Regions from separate parts of the Homo sapiens genome. Here regions 1, 3 and 4 are each linked to region 2. The links are contacts of gene promoters, found by promoter capture Hi-C in blood cells and fetal thymus (Javierre and others, 2016). All regions are on one chromosome and are shown on one strand. Each heading gives the region's core, a stretch centred on a gene start or on the middle of the fragment in contact. The rest is flanking DNA. Distances are from core to core; before and after follow the strand shown.

Region 1 (3,642 bases), core at 1,104-3,603, 810 kb before region 2:
TGTTTTGTTTCCATCACTAGTATGTTTTGCTCCTGAAGATTGTTTTCTGACCCCATGCCTTTGCTCAAGAAAAGAAAAAATTCCCTGCCTGGAATGCATTCTATTCATCAAAACCCTTCCCTTTCTGAAATATCACCTCCTTCAATAAGCCTTTCCTGCTCAGCCCACTATATGAGTATGAGTATCCTCATACTCAGAAGCAGCTCACACATGCTAAGCTGCCCTACTCCAATTAAGAAGAAAATACTAACACAGCATCTATAGCTTTCATTCAAGGAAGGCTGAGTACTTGTTAAGATCATTTTTTCTAAGTTCACTTAGCTGTTAAAGCAGCAAGGGCAGGATTTGGATCAGGTTCTGTTTGGTTCCAAACCCACCATGAGGAGCCACTGTGCTGTTTTACCTCTGAGAAAGACCTGACTTAAAACCCGACCTCTATGTTATGAGAGTCAGGCTCCTAGGATGGGGAACCACGATAGGTGCATGCATGTCTTGTCTTGCATTAGAGATTTTTATGTACATTTTCCCTTTCTAGATTATAATCTCTCCAAGGGCAAGAACTCCCTAACACCTTTCTGTACCTCTTACATCATTGTGACATCAAAGATTCTTAGCAAATGCTTGTTAAGTAAATGAGAGCAGACATTCTTGCTCCCCACTGATTTTATCTTGGATGCTAATAATACAGTAACCTTATTTCCAAAAACCATTCCCACAGAGCCCGACACACCGTGGAACAAAAACTGAGAATTGGATTGAAGAACTGGATTGAGAAAAGGAAACACTTTGGTGAAATCACAACCTGTAAACAGACCTCAAAACATAGTGTTCACTCAACTGAAGCTGAACGTTCTATAGCCTGGGTTCATTTGGCTTGATTGCGCATCACTTGTTTACTTGGTGTGTATAACACTCCACAGGAGTCACAGGGTCCTTTTATAGGCATCTCTGGTCTGTTGTGGGCCCCGGGTAGTCATAGTCCCACTGTCTTGCTCATTATCCTCCTGCACCCCCAACACAACTGGACATCACACACTAACTTAACAATTCAGCCTCCTTCCAACTGTCTTACCCCTTCTATCTAGTTTCTTCCTGCCTTAATTAACTTCCTAGCATCATATGAATAATCATTTGTTTGTTTGCTCATCCTATTGTGGTTGCCCATCCTATGATCTTAACAAGTACTCAGCCTTCCTTGAATGAAAGCTATAGACCCTCTGTTAGTATTTTCTTTTTAATTGGGGTAGGGTGGCTTAGTGAACATGGACCTGACAGTGTTGGTTTAAAATCCAGTGACCATTGCATAGTTCCACTTTAAAATGCCCTATGTCACATTAGTGTGAATGCACAGAGGCACAGACAGGCCCAGGGTCTCAGGTTAGAAAATATGATGAGGGGAGGGGTTTCTTCTAAAGAGAACTGTGGAATTGTCGGATGTGAATCTGGGCCTGTTGTTCGTTTCTCGCTATGCATGTTTCCATGGGACGGACACTCAGTTGTTACTCTCGCTCTCTCCCACCACTTCCGCTCTCTTTCACAGGAAGAGGCGGGTCCTACCCTGATGGAAACCGGTTCTGGTCTCTGTCCAATGGGAGTCGCTTCCTGTCCTGCACCTTCCCAACCACATCAGTGAAAGGGTGGAAGTGCTGGTCTGCCCACTGCAGGCTTAACCCATGTTCTTCCTACTAGGAAAGGGACGTTTCCATTTTCATCCACCTGACTCCCGAGTTGGTTGCAAAGATGGAAGAAAGGAACAGCCATTTATTCTCCTGGAGGCAGGCCCTGCCGGACTTGAGAGGGCCTTTCCTCTGACCCTAAGCATCAGAGCGGATGGAGACAGAAAATCCTGAGGCCGCTGTATGGTGGGTCTCTTCACAGCCATGGGGCCCAGCCCCACTCGCCTCCACCAGGTTATGGCCCAGCAGCTGGGACTCCGTCCAGAAGAGCACCTGCAGCACGTATCCTGTGTTCTCCATCAAAGCGGCCTGGAGTCCGCCTGCGTCCCCAGCAAGCAGCACTCCCGCCCTAAAACCAAAGGGCGCAGCAAGGAAATGGGAGGGCTGCGCTTTGCTTCCTGTCTGATAACTACCAACAACCGGGCTTCTGCCCAGCATAGCTAGATAAGGGGAGGGCACTCCATTTGACATGCCCTGAAGACTGTCCAAGCGATGGCTTAGGAAGGCCATTCCAATTTCAAGTCCTGAAAGCTGTAAGATTTTTCTGTGACTTAGAGTGATTTATAACATAGTTTAACCTCTCAAAGCTTCACATCTGTAAAATATGGATAAAACTATCTCAAAGCGGTATTGTGCAAGTTAAATGAAAAAGATAGTGTATGCACATTGTTTGGCACTAAGCTATTATTATTATCAAAAGTAGTAGCAATTAGTATTATTGTTTAAAGGAGAAAATGATATCCATTGGGAGGCTCCTCTTTGGACCTGAAAGCTTAATATCTGGAATTACTTAGAACTGGAATGCCAGCCTCCGCCTCCTGCCAGCAGCCTGCTGCCAATTCTGATGAGACAGCTTAGAAACCATTGCCCTGATGCCATAGAAAAGAAGAGGACAGCTAGCCTTTTCCTTTCTCTTCACCCTTAATTTAAAAAGGTTGGGCAAGTTACACATCCACCCACCTCCAAACCTTTCAAACAAGTTTCAGTTATATTCTTGCCGAGTAGAAAAACCAAAAATTAATAAGAGAACTTACTTAAAATAAAAAGTTGTTAACATCTTGATACATCCTGGCTTTCCAGTTAAGAGACTTTACAGAATGGTTCGTGACTTCTACACCAAATTCTTTCTTGTATATTTTGTCTACACCCCACCCCTTCCTTAGCCTCAACCTCATGAGTGCAAATGGAGATCAGCCCTGGCTCCTGGCATCCCACGACGACTTGGAGGTGGAAATTGTTAGTCTGGAGTGGGATTGAGGGCCCCTGAGGCAGACTGACACTCTTTCAGCTGATGCATGTCTAATGCTGAGCAGGCTGTGACCAACCACCCTCAGGACATGTTTTTATGCAAGTGTGCTGTAGGGGGTGGTCTTCCTCATAAGTGAGAAAACATGAAAGCAAAGTTCATTTATCCCATCAGTTGGCTGCTTCTCACCATTCACCTGGGCCCTGCAGTGCTGAGAAAATAGGATGTATTTTAATCTCCAAGCAGACTGGACTCCAATCAATTTAGAGACACAGAGCCACAACATAATTCAATTTGGGGTGATTCCACTGTCTCTGTAATGTCTAAAGCCCTAATGTACTGCTGACTCTTAGGACAAACTGGCACTGATCAAGAGTGAGGCCACTAAGCCATCACTGATTTCAGACTCTCACCCCTGACTTTCTATGTATGGACAACACTTAATATTTCACAGAACCCAAGTTGCACTGGACCGAAGAAGACCTAAATAGCCATGTAGTCCATGTGCTGCCAAACACCTGGCAAATAGTTGCATGGTTGTTAAATAAGCACACCTCATATCCAGGAACTCCTGGACAAAGGCTGACCATTCCATCTGGACCTCCTCCAACTTCTAAAAAGCTTTCTCTTGAATTTGGCCAATGGGCATCCCTGCTGAGCCCACCTTTAGTCCAGATGTTACCTTTCTGGATGTTCATTCATGCATATAGCTGCAAACGT
Region 2 (3,669 bases), core at 106-2,605:
TGTCCACCTGACCCAAGAACCAATCTTAGCATCCCTAAAAGTGAGACAGCTGGGGATAGCCTGCAATAAGAAACAGAAAGCACCACTTAGTAGAAGCATTCTTGCCGACAAAACTTTGAATGAGAATCTGACCAAGCCTCCAAATGAACATTCATTTTACAGGACATGCAGGTGATACAAACGTTAAGTGACACCACAACGAAGCTATCAGACAAATTCAGAGTGTGGGGGCACTGGACAAGACAATCAGTCCTGTCTCTTAGGAGGGGTAAGAGGAGGTTGCTCTAAATGAAGTGACACGTCTAAATGTAACCTGTGGACCCTGTTAGGATTCTCATTCACGCAGACCACTGTAAAATGTCATGTTTGAAAAAACTAGGTAAACGTGAGTGAGCATGGACTACAAAATGATACTGGAAAATTAGTATTAGTGTTGTTAGGGGTGATAATAGCATATGTAAGAAAATCCCTAAAACGTTTGAGATGTATTCTGAAAAATGTAGAGGTGAAAGGCCATGATGACTGGAATTCGCTTAGGAGTGGCGGGAGAGAAAATAAACGTGGCAAAATCTTCCTGTTGAATTTACCCGGTTGTGTAGGGGTCAGGGCTCACTTGACTATTTTCTCCCACTTTTTTGTGTTTGGAAACAATTTTTTTAAAGCGTGTTCATCGGCTACTGACACATCATGCTAATTGAAGTGTTGGGTGCAGGTTTAAAAAGTTTCGAGGGAATTGGTGTGTCCGTGAACAATCCACGACAAACGTGGTGGGGCCCGCGGGAGCGCTGCGGCCCAAGACAGTGTGACAAGCGGGAAGATCACGAGTCCGCAAGACACCAAGCCTCCAGAAATGCTCCAGAAACGCTCCAGAAAGCCTTTAAAGAACGGATTTGAACCCAGCCCTCCCACAGCGGCTTCACCCTGGACTCCACGAAACGCCAGCAGATCCACGCGAGAACCACACACACCTGGGGCTGGCGCCGCTGGACGCCGCGGCTTCACGGAGACCCAGGGCCCAAGCAGAGCCAAGGAGCGGCGGCAACCGCGGGGGCCACTCGGAAGACCGCGGAGCCCCGGCCTTAGGCGCCGTCGCGGCTGCCAGGCCCGCGCACCTTCCAGCTGCGGTGAGCGCGCTGCCCTTATCCCGGTGCCTCACCTCTTCCGCGCCAGCTGCAGACGCACCTCCCTGTCCTCGGGCGTCTCCCTCCGCCCCTCCTCCTCCTCCTCTTCGTCCTCAGTCCCAGCTCGGCACGGCGCCTTCACCACCTCTCCGAAGAACGTGGCCGCCATAGCCGCCCCGTGACCGGCTGGACACAACTGCAGCGCCGCGGGACCGCACGCCGGCTTGCGCGAGACCACGCTCCCTCACCGCGCGGGCAATAAGTCCCGCCCCGCACAGGCCACGCCCTCCGCGCACAGCCCAAGCTCGCGGCCACACCCCCACCGCGCGGGCGCTACGTCCCGCCCCGCACAGGGCTCGCTCCCAGGCACACCCTGAGCTCGCGGCCACGCCCTCTACACCGCCCGCCCGCGCTGTCATGCCCTGGGCCAGCAGTCCCCGCAGCTTTTTTGTTTTTAAATTACAGATTGGGGGAGGGGGTCTCGCTATGTTGCCCAGACTGGTCTCGAACTCCAGGACTCTAGCGATCGTCCTCCTTAGACCTCCCAAAGTGCTTGGATTACAGGCCTCAGCCACCGCGTCCGGCCCCCAAAGGCTTTCATTCGCAGCTTGAGCCCTGCGGGCGCCAGGAGGTGGGAGGACTGCGGGCTAGAGGGGCAGGGGGCGAGAGGAGGGCGGGGCCTCCGTTCGTGGCGGTAGCGGAACCAGGGGTGCAGGGGCGGAGCCAGCGCCGCTGGCCGTGGCGTCCGGGAGCTGTGGGGCCGTCCCCTCATCGTCCGTTTCCATTTTCCTTCTGCGTTAGGAGAGACTGGGGTAGCATTAGTGTACTGAGCACCCGCTCCAAATTTCGACTGCCCAGGTAGGTGGCGGCGCGGTGGTACTGAGGGCCCCCGTAGCCAGGCGCGCCCTCAGACAGCGGGCACGGGCGGACGCAAGGGCAGCAAGAAATACAGCGCTTCGTGGTGGTATAAAAACGAGACCTTTACTCTGGCAATAGGAATTCACATTTCAAAAGCTGATGATTGTCAAGGCGATTTAAAAAACATTTTTATGAGTGTAAAAAATAGTGTTTTAAAGTTGGCCATTTTCTAATACAAAATGTTTCTTTTTAAATAGCCTTTAATAAGCAGAATGTGTGATTGTTCTTTAATTGGTTCTCTTTAAAATGTGCTGGAAGACAAAGTTCGAGGAGCACTGTTTCAAGCAAGAGAAAAAGGGGACATAATTTAAATGAAAATGAAAATATGCAGTAATGCAATGAAAAAACCGTTTCCTAGATTTAGTTGTACCGAAATACATGACATCGCCTGCATTTTGTGACTTTGTCAGTAGTCACGAAGGTAAGTACTACTTTGGGGTCAGAGAGAGCCTGTTGAGATAAAATCTCAAAGCTGTTAGAAACATTTTAAGATGTGGAAAGATAATCAACAAAATCATTTACATAAAATTAGTACTTAGCAGATGTACACATCTGCAAAAATAAAGTGAGTTTGGAAGCAAAATTTGAACATTTAGCAATAAAATTAAGACGAAATTGCTAGCCAGTAAGAGCTTAGGAAACTGGATATCCTTAGTGAGATAGAATAAACAAGATCACCACAATGATGTTTTAAAACATTAGGACTCCTGGGTTAACTGGTCTATTATGATGATGGAACTGCAGAATAAAAAGGTTGTTTGGGCACCACTTGTCTTAGTCCTTTTGTTAATTTGTCATTTTTACCAGTAAGATCTTCAATTTGATTTCACAGTTCCATGATGAAGAAATATTTTCTGCAAAGCAAATTACTGTAAATAGGGTAATAGTAATACATTTGGCCATGATTTAAATTCTGCACACATTTCAGAGAGAACAATTTTACAATGTTAAGTTTTAAGCAAATGCTTATTTCATGCAGTTACAATAAGTTTAGGCCAAGCACTTTTTAAAAAGGCAAATATGTTCGAATTAAATACTTAGCCAAAAAAGGATTTCATTATGCAAGACTGATAATACAATCTCAAATACTGACAGAAATTAACCCCACCACAGCAAATTATAAATTCAAAGCTTAAATTCTTTCATTACACTGAAATTGCTAAAAAAAAAAAAAAAAAAAAAAAAAAACTTTGCATAAAATAGTCTTCACCGAGTTAAGTATTTCATTTTATAGTTACTTGTTGAGGACATAATATACTCAATAAATATTATAAATTAAGTGTAAAATTTGAACTGGAAAGAAGTTTAAGCATTTCATTAGAGCTCAAAAATCAAACCCCATGCACCTAAAAGTAATAGCAGTTTATTAGGAATTCTTCCCTTTCTCACCTGTGTATCAACATATTGGGGATCAGTAATTTAGATGAAAGTATACTACAAAAGGAGCAAAGGACACAGACTTAGTAGGTTAGAATATTCTGGCTTATGCTAAAAAACAAAAAGCCTTTTTTTTAAAACAGACATGCAACCACAAATTTCTCAAGTATTTTAGACACTTGGTTCATCTGTATAACAAAAAAAAAAAAATGCATTTGACTTAAAAAAGAAATAGAAAACCCTAGGTTTCTGT
Region 3 (3,342 bases), core at 194-2,693, 780 kb before region 2:
ATTCTCCAGTTGCAGGTTCACAGCTTTTATCTCCACAGGAGCAGTCCTTTAAGGTTGATCGCTTAGCAATGGATGACCCGAGGTGTATAACTAGTTCTTATCTCCAAGTTCAAGTCCCTGAATAGGGCCTACAGTAAATAGTCCTCTGGCTTGTTCAGTCTGCTTTAAATTCTTTACAGGTCAGATACCAATATTTGTATTGGTTCTCATAATCACAGTAGCAGTGGTCAAAACAGGTTATTTCAGGTACAAACTGAGTCGCGAAAACATACTTGACTAGTAGTGGAGCTGTGGAAGTGTGCTCTCTCCCAGGTCACGCTCAAATTATGGGCCCATGGAAGACCACCATCAGAGCGGCATGGGAGGTGTCTGAGTTTGCCACCCTTGCCTTCCCTGGGTTGGGCAGAGAGGGAGTCCCAACCAACATCCTCACAGTCACCCTCTTCTCCATCCACCTGGATGGGCCATACCTTCCAAATCCACCATATCCTAAAATGTGAAAACAAAGCAGCTCCAGGACCCACTGTCTTAACCAGGTAGCATCAGTCAGCTGGCTTGTCTGACAGAGAGATTGTGCCAATGAATTTGGCCAGTGTTGTGATCTTTTAACACAGTTTATAATACTAGCTCACAACCCCTGGCTTTGCAACTCAGTCAGAGGCACCTATGAGATGTCTTAACATAAACAAACAAATACAAAATTAAAAAGTAAAAAAATTTTTAAAACCCTAGCCAAATGTTTTGGAAATAGTTTTTATTTTTTTAGTTTATATGGAAATATTTTTTAAATGCTCACAGAATTACAAAATCTCTAAAGCTTGAGTCAAACATGAATTTCTATTTTCCACTCGCAATACACGTGGTGGATGTCTTTAGGACCAATCTTGCAGACTCTAGGCACTGGGTCTTGCCCATGTTTCAATGGCCTGTGAAATCTTTTACATGACAGAGATGACTTACTACCTCTTAGTACCCCTTAGCTGCTAAGCCTTTCCATCATGCTTCCCAGGAGCAAGACAGTAAACTTTTTCTCTGACGTTAGAGAAGAGAAAATTGCCAGCCTGAAGTCACTAGGCAGTAACCAGGGCAGTGTCAGTATTTGAACAGCCTGAGAAGCTTCCTCATTCATTCTCTTTAGCTCCCTGGGCCCCCAGTCTTTCTCATTAGAAAGAAAGAGTAGTTGCCAAGCCTAGATCTTGAACCAGTTCGAACTGAGACTTGTGTATTCCGGATATGTGATAGAGTTTAACATGAATTCTGGAAGCATGTATGAATATGGAGAAACCATCCCACCACCCTGAACACAATGTCATCAGCTGTGAGGCTGGTACAATGATACCTAGCTTATCGGGCTGATGTAAGTCCCAGGGAGAGGACAAATGCTAAAGGCAAGCTATACCCTTCTGGGAAATGCCCTCTCTCCCTGCTCATTATTCGTCTGGCAAACATCTAATTCCCCTTTGCCATGTGGCCATTCCTCTGGAAAGCATCTTTATGCCTTTCATGGGGGATTGAGTTCCTCCCCACCCCTGCTCCTACGCCCTGTATTGCTAGAAGTGGTTCCTCTACCATAAAATCTATCACATTAGGGAAAACATTTATGTGTACATATGTGTCTCTCTGGCTCTAGGTCACTCTACTGAAACATCTAGAACTGGAGGCAAAACATTTCGGTTTGTTCACCATCATACCATCCGTGGCTGGCACAGAGGAGGCACTCAGCAAATGAACAAACCAAGCTGAATGAAGAAGTAAACTTTCTGAAGACAGGAAGCTTACTGAAGCCTGGTTCATCTATATATTCCCAGAGTCTAACACCACGCTTGGCACTAATGGGCACTTGATAGATGTTTATTTTTGCATGAATGGCATGTAAATTTATTACCTAATTAAATCATTTGGAGGACAGGCAGTAAGATTCAGATGTAAATACTACTGGTTGCATGCTTCTGCTCTGCAAGACTGGCTTCTTGTGACATACTGATAATCGGTCACTGTGAATCTGGGGAGTGTCCTTGTTTTGTGCTCTTCCCCCGAGGAGGGACAGATCCTTCTGTTAGTTCAAAAGTCGGCCTATTCCTAACTGCCAGGCATCCAGGATGCCTTCTTTGCCCATCTGTCTTTCTGAAAAGCTAGTTAAAGGGCTAATCTGCTCTTAATTCCTTTAGTGTGGTCTTTGAATGAAATGGTTTGAGTGGATTTAGTCTCCAAATCAACAGAGGCAGAATAAGACTGTCTGGGACTGGCTTCAGCTCCGGGATCAGCTCTCTTTGTATCACGTGACTTAGGGCACGGATCTCAGCAGGACATCTGGGATGTCTCTCAATGAAGAGATCACACAGGGGTGTTTTCGTACCTGGCCTAGTTGTAATTCTTTGCGTAGCTTCAGGATATACTGAAGTATTTGGGAAAATAAAAGCTGCACCCCCTGCAGACAAAAGGAAAGACAAACATGTGAAGGTCTTTTGTTGTGGTTGTCGATCTCAACATCAGCGCCAAATCTACTTTTCCCTATGACAACAAAGGGAAGAGACCTCCTCAAACCTGCCTTAACAGAGCTCCGGAGAAACAGACAGGTGCACCTGTCAGATTCTCAAGATGGAAGTGAAACTTGGAGCCTTGGTGTACTCCTGTGCCCCGTTTGCTATAAAGCGTTTTGTGTTTTGATTTTATAACTTCTTGATGAAGCCCTATCTGTGTCCCCCTCAATCCCACTTCCCACTGGGCAATCTCGTTTTATTAAAAAATTATATGGTACATGTTTTATTTTTCAACTTGTATAAAAACCCATAATATATTTTACAGAGCTTTTGGAAAGTAGTATCAAGCAATTATAAGTATTTAGCCTAAGAGTATATGGATTTTATTAATAATTAATCCACATCTCTATTCAAATGCATTTTCCCTCTCTCTCTTTTGACCAAAACTCATGCTGTTAGCTGAGAAAATTCCCTTTTCATAGTTCAGTCCATTTGGAATTTGTTGTCTTGTTCATTGGTTTCTTCCGTGTTTAACAATAGCAAAATTTAATATATTTGGAGCTTTTTTGAAACTTTCACTCAATGGTTAAAGAACTCATAAATAAATGTGAAATTATCAGAAAATGTGCATAGCTCAAAGGTGTTTCCTAAGAAGGGGAAGTAACTTCCTCTAAGTTATCTGTTATTTCTGGCCACAAGGTCACTAATAGGCTGATGTGTGCAACCAAAATTATTGAAAAAGTGTACTACCAACTCGAAGCAGGTTTTTTAAAACTTCAGATTAAAAAGACAATGTGTTGAATATAGAAGACCATGATAAATGAGCAATTTCATTGTAATACTCAAACCGGGACTCACTCAC
Region 4 (3,444 bases), core at 65-2,564, 710 kb before region 2:
GCACTGCGGGGCAGAACTTCCGGGACCTGCAAGACCAGTCCGCTGCCTTCTGAGACGTAGTTCTGAGGTGTAGCAAGTTTTCATTTTCACAGCATAAAACCGTCTACAAATACATACTTCAAAATGAAATGGAGGATGCGCTCAAAAAAAAAAAAAAAAAAAAGGCTTAGAGACACGTCAAAAGGGCACAGGAGCTCAGCCAGGTCAAATAAATTCCCAAATTTGACTCACATCACTTCAGCCTCATCTGGATATTACCCACACTCTGCCTAGGCAGGCGAAGCTTCCGTGGGATCCTCTGTCTTTAGTGAATTCTTTCCTTTATCTTGTCCAGCTTTTCATTGCTCTTTCAGAAACTGAGCCCATGGTTTTAAATCTTAATATGACCTTGCATTCAATTATATATATACATATATATATATATACAAAGCTGTTTTTTAAAGACAATTTTAAATAAGAAAAAAATAATTATTTTAGATACCAGAGAGTGGTGAAATAATAATGATTCAAACTTAATCCTCACTTCACGTAGGGGAAATTGACTCAAATCTGGGAGCATCAAAAATTAAGATGCATTTACAAATCCTAGGAGAAGATATCCTTTGTAATCTCAGAGAAAATAATTGAGAGAGGGAAAATTTTTTTTGAAAGACGTGGTTTGGACATATTACTATTTTGTGAAATGAAGTTAAATGTATGGTACAGATATTAAAGTTCACTTAAGTTTTATCTATATAAAGTGTGTGATTTTGGATCTAAACAGGCATAAATATATATATGTGTGTGTGTGTGTATGTGTACATGTTTGCGTACGTATGCATGTGTATGTGTACATGTTTGCGTATGTATGCATGTGTATGTGTGAGCGTATGTGTGTGTAAGTGTTGTATATGTGTGTATGTGTGTGTATATGTATGTGTGTATATAATAGGAAGTAAGTTGGAAAACATGAGCCAACTGACTTTTTTTTCCTTAGACAGCTAAAGAAGAGTGGTTAGAAGTTTACTCACAAGTAAATCTTTTAAGGAGCGTTTACTTCCCAGAAACAGCAATGAGATCTTGGAGGGGCAATTCTTGTCAACTGTGCATCATCAATGGAGTTTAACTGTGAGAGGTAAAACCCATTGTTGGTCCCGACTCCACCAACCCAAATGGTCATATCTGAGGACTTCCTGTGGTTCTCCCGCCCCCACCCTCTCCACGGCATTTACTGCTCCTGTATACCCTGGACTTCTCGACAGGAAATGGCAAATTCCTCAGTAGGAAAGCCAAGAAGTGGGAGGTCACATGGAGACTGGAAGTTCATTGCGTGCAGCCCCTCCAGGTGACAGGCGACACCGCCTCTGCATGTTGAGTGCCTTTGTGACACATGATCTCCTTGTCTCATGACCACAGGCAGCAGGGTCCTGATGAGTGCCCTGGAGAGAACTGTCCTCCCACCCCTGGGTGACACAGAGTCTCAGAAGCCAGCAGAGGTGCTGCACCAAAGGCTCAGACTTTCACCCTGCCTCTCTTCTCCTCAACTCTTTGCCCTAAAAAACATGTGCTTTGAGGGTGTGTTGAAAATCTCACTAAGTCAAATGATGCCTGTGGGGCAGAAATAACCCTTGCTCTGAAAGGGTCACCAAAAAGTCATGAGACTCCTACCTGTATGGAAGGTGGTGACTATATAGCCCTTGTATAAACAAACAAATACGGTGAAAGACTTGGCTCCATTTTTTTTTTTTTGTCTGTTCGTTATTTTTTGGAGAAAACGTTGTGATAAGAAGCCTTTAGCCTACAAAAATGTCTCTAGATTAATGATAATTTATCTCACTTTTCTCAGTGAAACAGATGAATCAAAGAAAGTGAAGCATCGTAGACAATATAGGACCTTCCTGATAACATCTAACATTTAATAACGTGATCACAGCGTGGCGGCTCTAAAAGACATGCACATGTGAATTAATGCATCTAACCTGCACACTAGCTACCATTATGCCCATTTTAAAGATGAGGAAAACTGAGACTCCAAAAATTAAATAAGTTGCCTAGAGCATCTTGCCAGTTAATGCACCAGAATTCTAAGCCAGCTGCCTGGTTCCAAAGCGCATGCCCATAAACGCGGAACATAATGCACCAAATGGCCTAGAACTGAAACGACTGCAAAAATAAGTCAACATATGAGAAACTAGAGAATATATAAAGCCAGCCCCACCATAATCAGTGGCAAGGGATGGGAGATGGGAAGAAGGGAGAAGGGAAGGGAAGCTAAATAATTTCAGTTTTTCTCTGTGCCTTTAATTCCTGTCCCCTGAAGATGACACGCTCATTTTAGTAGCAACCCATGACCAAGATGCATTCCCCAAGCTTTTCGCACCTGACAGAAAGGGACTCGGTGTCCAGGACTGTGCCCGATTACAATCAAAGCAGATGGACCCTTCCTTAGGGTAGGGCTGTTCTTCTGACAGCCTCCTCTGTGAAACTAGATTATAAGAGGATGTGCTGCTCTCAGACACCCTCTGCCTGTCCCCGCCTTGGGGTCCTTGCCTTTGCCATTCCCCTGGTCCGCATCACTCCTCCGAGGCATTTGCAAACCTTGTTCTCACCTTTTCTTTGGGTCTCTGTCTGACAGGCCTTGCCTGATCATGTTCTCTAAACTAGAGGTCCCGCCCCCCGGCCACCTGGCTCTATCATGTTCCCTACCTTCCCTCCTAAGGCTCCTGACTTCCTGCCACACTCTGTCTTCGTTGAGCTGTGATCTATTTGTCAGTCTCCCCCATCTGCATCCCCCTGATTGACAGCACTGAGTGAGCCCAGCTGTCCTGCTGCTCATGCCCCTCAGCACCCATGAGCCTAGTGGGTGCCCAGTAAATCCTTAGTGAGTAAATGAATGAGTCAATTTCCACACACCAAATCCCAAAGGGATAAAAAGACATTGCCTTTCTGCCATTTCTTGGAAGAATTTTTTGAGACAAACTAAAGAAAGGAAGCTACTTGTTATTAAATTTTTAAAAATCTGCCTACTATTTTCAGGCAAATATGTCATGATGACATCTATGAAATCTCTGAAATTAAAGAGAAGCCTGACGTTTCACAGGAATTAAATGAAGTTGCTGCATCACAGGTGCTCCCTGCCACAGGGCTCCGTGTGGCAGCAGCAAACAGAACTCCTCGCTGCTTAGGTGTAGTCCTTAGGAATGAAAATCTGAACGTAGTACGTTAAAAAAAAAAATCTTCAAAAGCAAACAAAGCCCTAAGTGTCGCTGTGTATTATCAGGGCAGGGTCCTCCTCAGAGAGAGGCGGGCTGCAATCGCCCCTACACCTTTCACCAAGTGCCTCGCTTCAGGGGTCCCATTGTCTCCACGTTTAGGTTTAGGAGCCTGGCTCTTCGTAACACCAGCGAAACATGTTCTCCTAAAGATGTTCCCTGAGATACAACACCACTCCGCATTGTTTCACCA

What was found. The method cuts DNA at HindIII sites, captures the fragments that hold promoters and counts their contacts. A CHiCAGO score of 5 or more calls a contact.
Region 1: a contact is called between a fragment that was not itself captured here and the fragment with the promoter of PSMG1 in region 2, in 2 of 17 cell types (megakaryocytes and monocytes). The highest score is 7.6, in megakaryocytes.
Region 3: a fragment that was not itself captured here is called in contact with the fragment with the promoter of PSMG1 in region 2 in 1 of 17 cell types (fetal thymus); the score reaches 5.4 in fetal thymus.
Region 4: a fragment that was not itself captured here is called in contact with the fragment with the promoter of PSMG1 in region 2 in 4 of 17 cell types (fetal thymus, monocytes, megakaryocytes and 1 more); the score reaches 7.7 in fetal thymus.

Annotation. Positions count from the first base shown.
Region 1 is chr21:38,374,860-38,378,501 of GRCh38, forward strand. It overlaps a transcript of ERG not described here. Among named protein-coding and RNA genes, the nearest start is that of LINC01423, 31 kb to the left of the region's middle. The HindIII fragment of the contact is 185 bases long and covers 2,262-2,446 here.
Region 2 is chr21:39,182,096-39,185,764 of GRCh38, forward strand. PSMG1 (proteasome assembly chaperone 1) reads right to left here and starts at 1,356. Exons shown (of 7, transcript NM_003720.4): 1 at 1,157-1,356. The coding sequence starts at 1,290. BRWD1 (bromodomain and WD repeat domain containing 1) reads right to left here. Exons shown (of 41, transcript NM_033656.4): 41 at 3,387-3,669. RefSeq lists silencers at 1,032-1,111, 1,312-1,531. The HindIII fragment of the contact is 4,125 bases long and covers 1-3,168 here.
Region 3 is chr21:38,398,218-38,401,559 of GRCh38, forward strand. ERG (ETS transcription factor ERG) reads right to left here. Exons shown (of 10, transcript NM_182918.4): 6 at 2,357-2,428. Among named protein-coding and RNA genes, the nearest start is that of LINC01423, 54 kb to the left of the region's middle. The HindIII fragment of the contact is 658 bases long and covers 1,115-1,772 here.
Region 4 is chr21:38,473,017-38,476,460 of GRCh38, forward strand. All of the region lies in intron 1 of ERG (ETS transcription factor ERG), which reads right to left. Among named protein-coding and RNA genes, the nearest start is that of ERG, 24 kb to the right of the region's middle. RefSeq lists an enhancer at 3,430-3,444 and a silencer at 3,430-3,444. The HindIII fragment of the contact is 2,066 bases long and covers 282-2,347 here.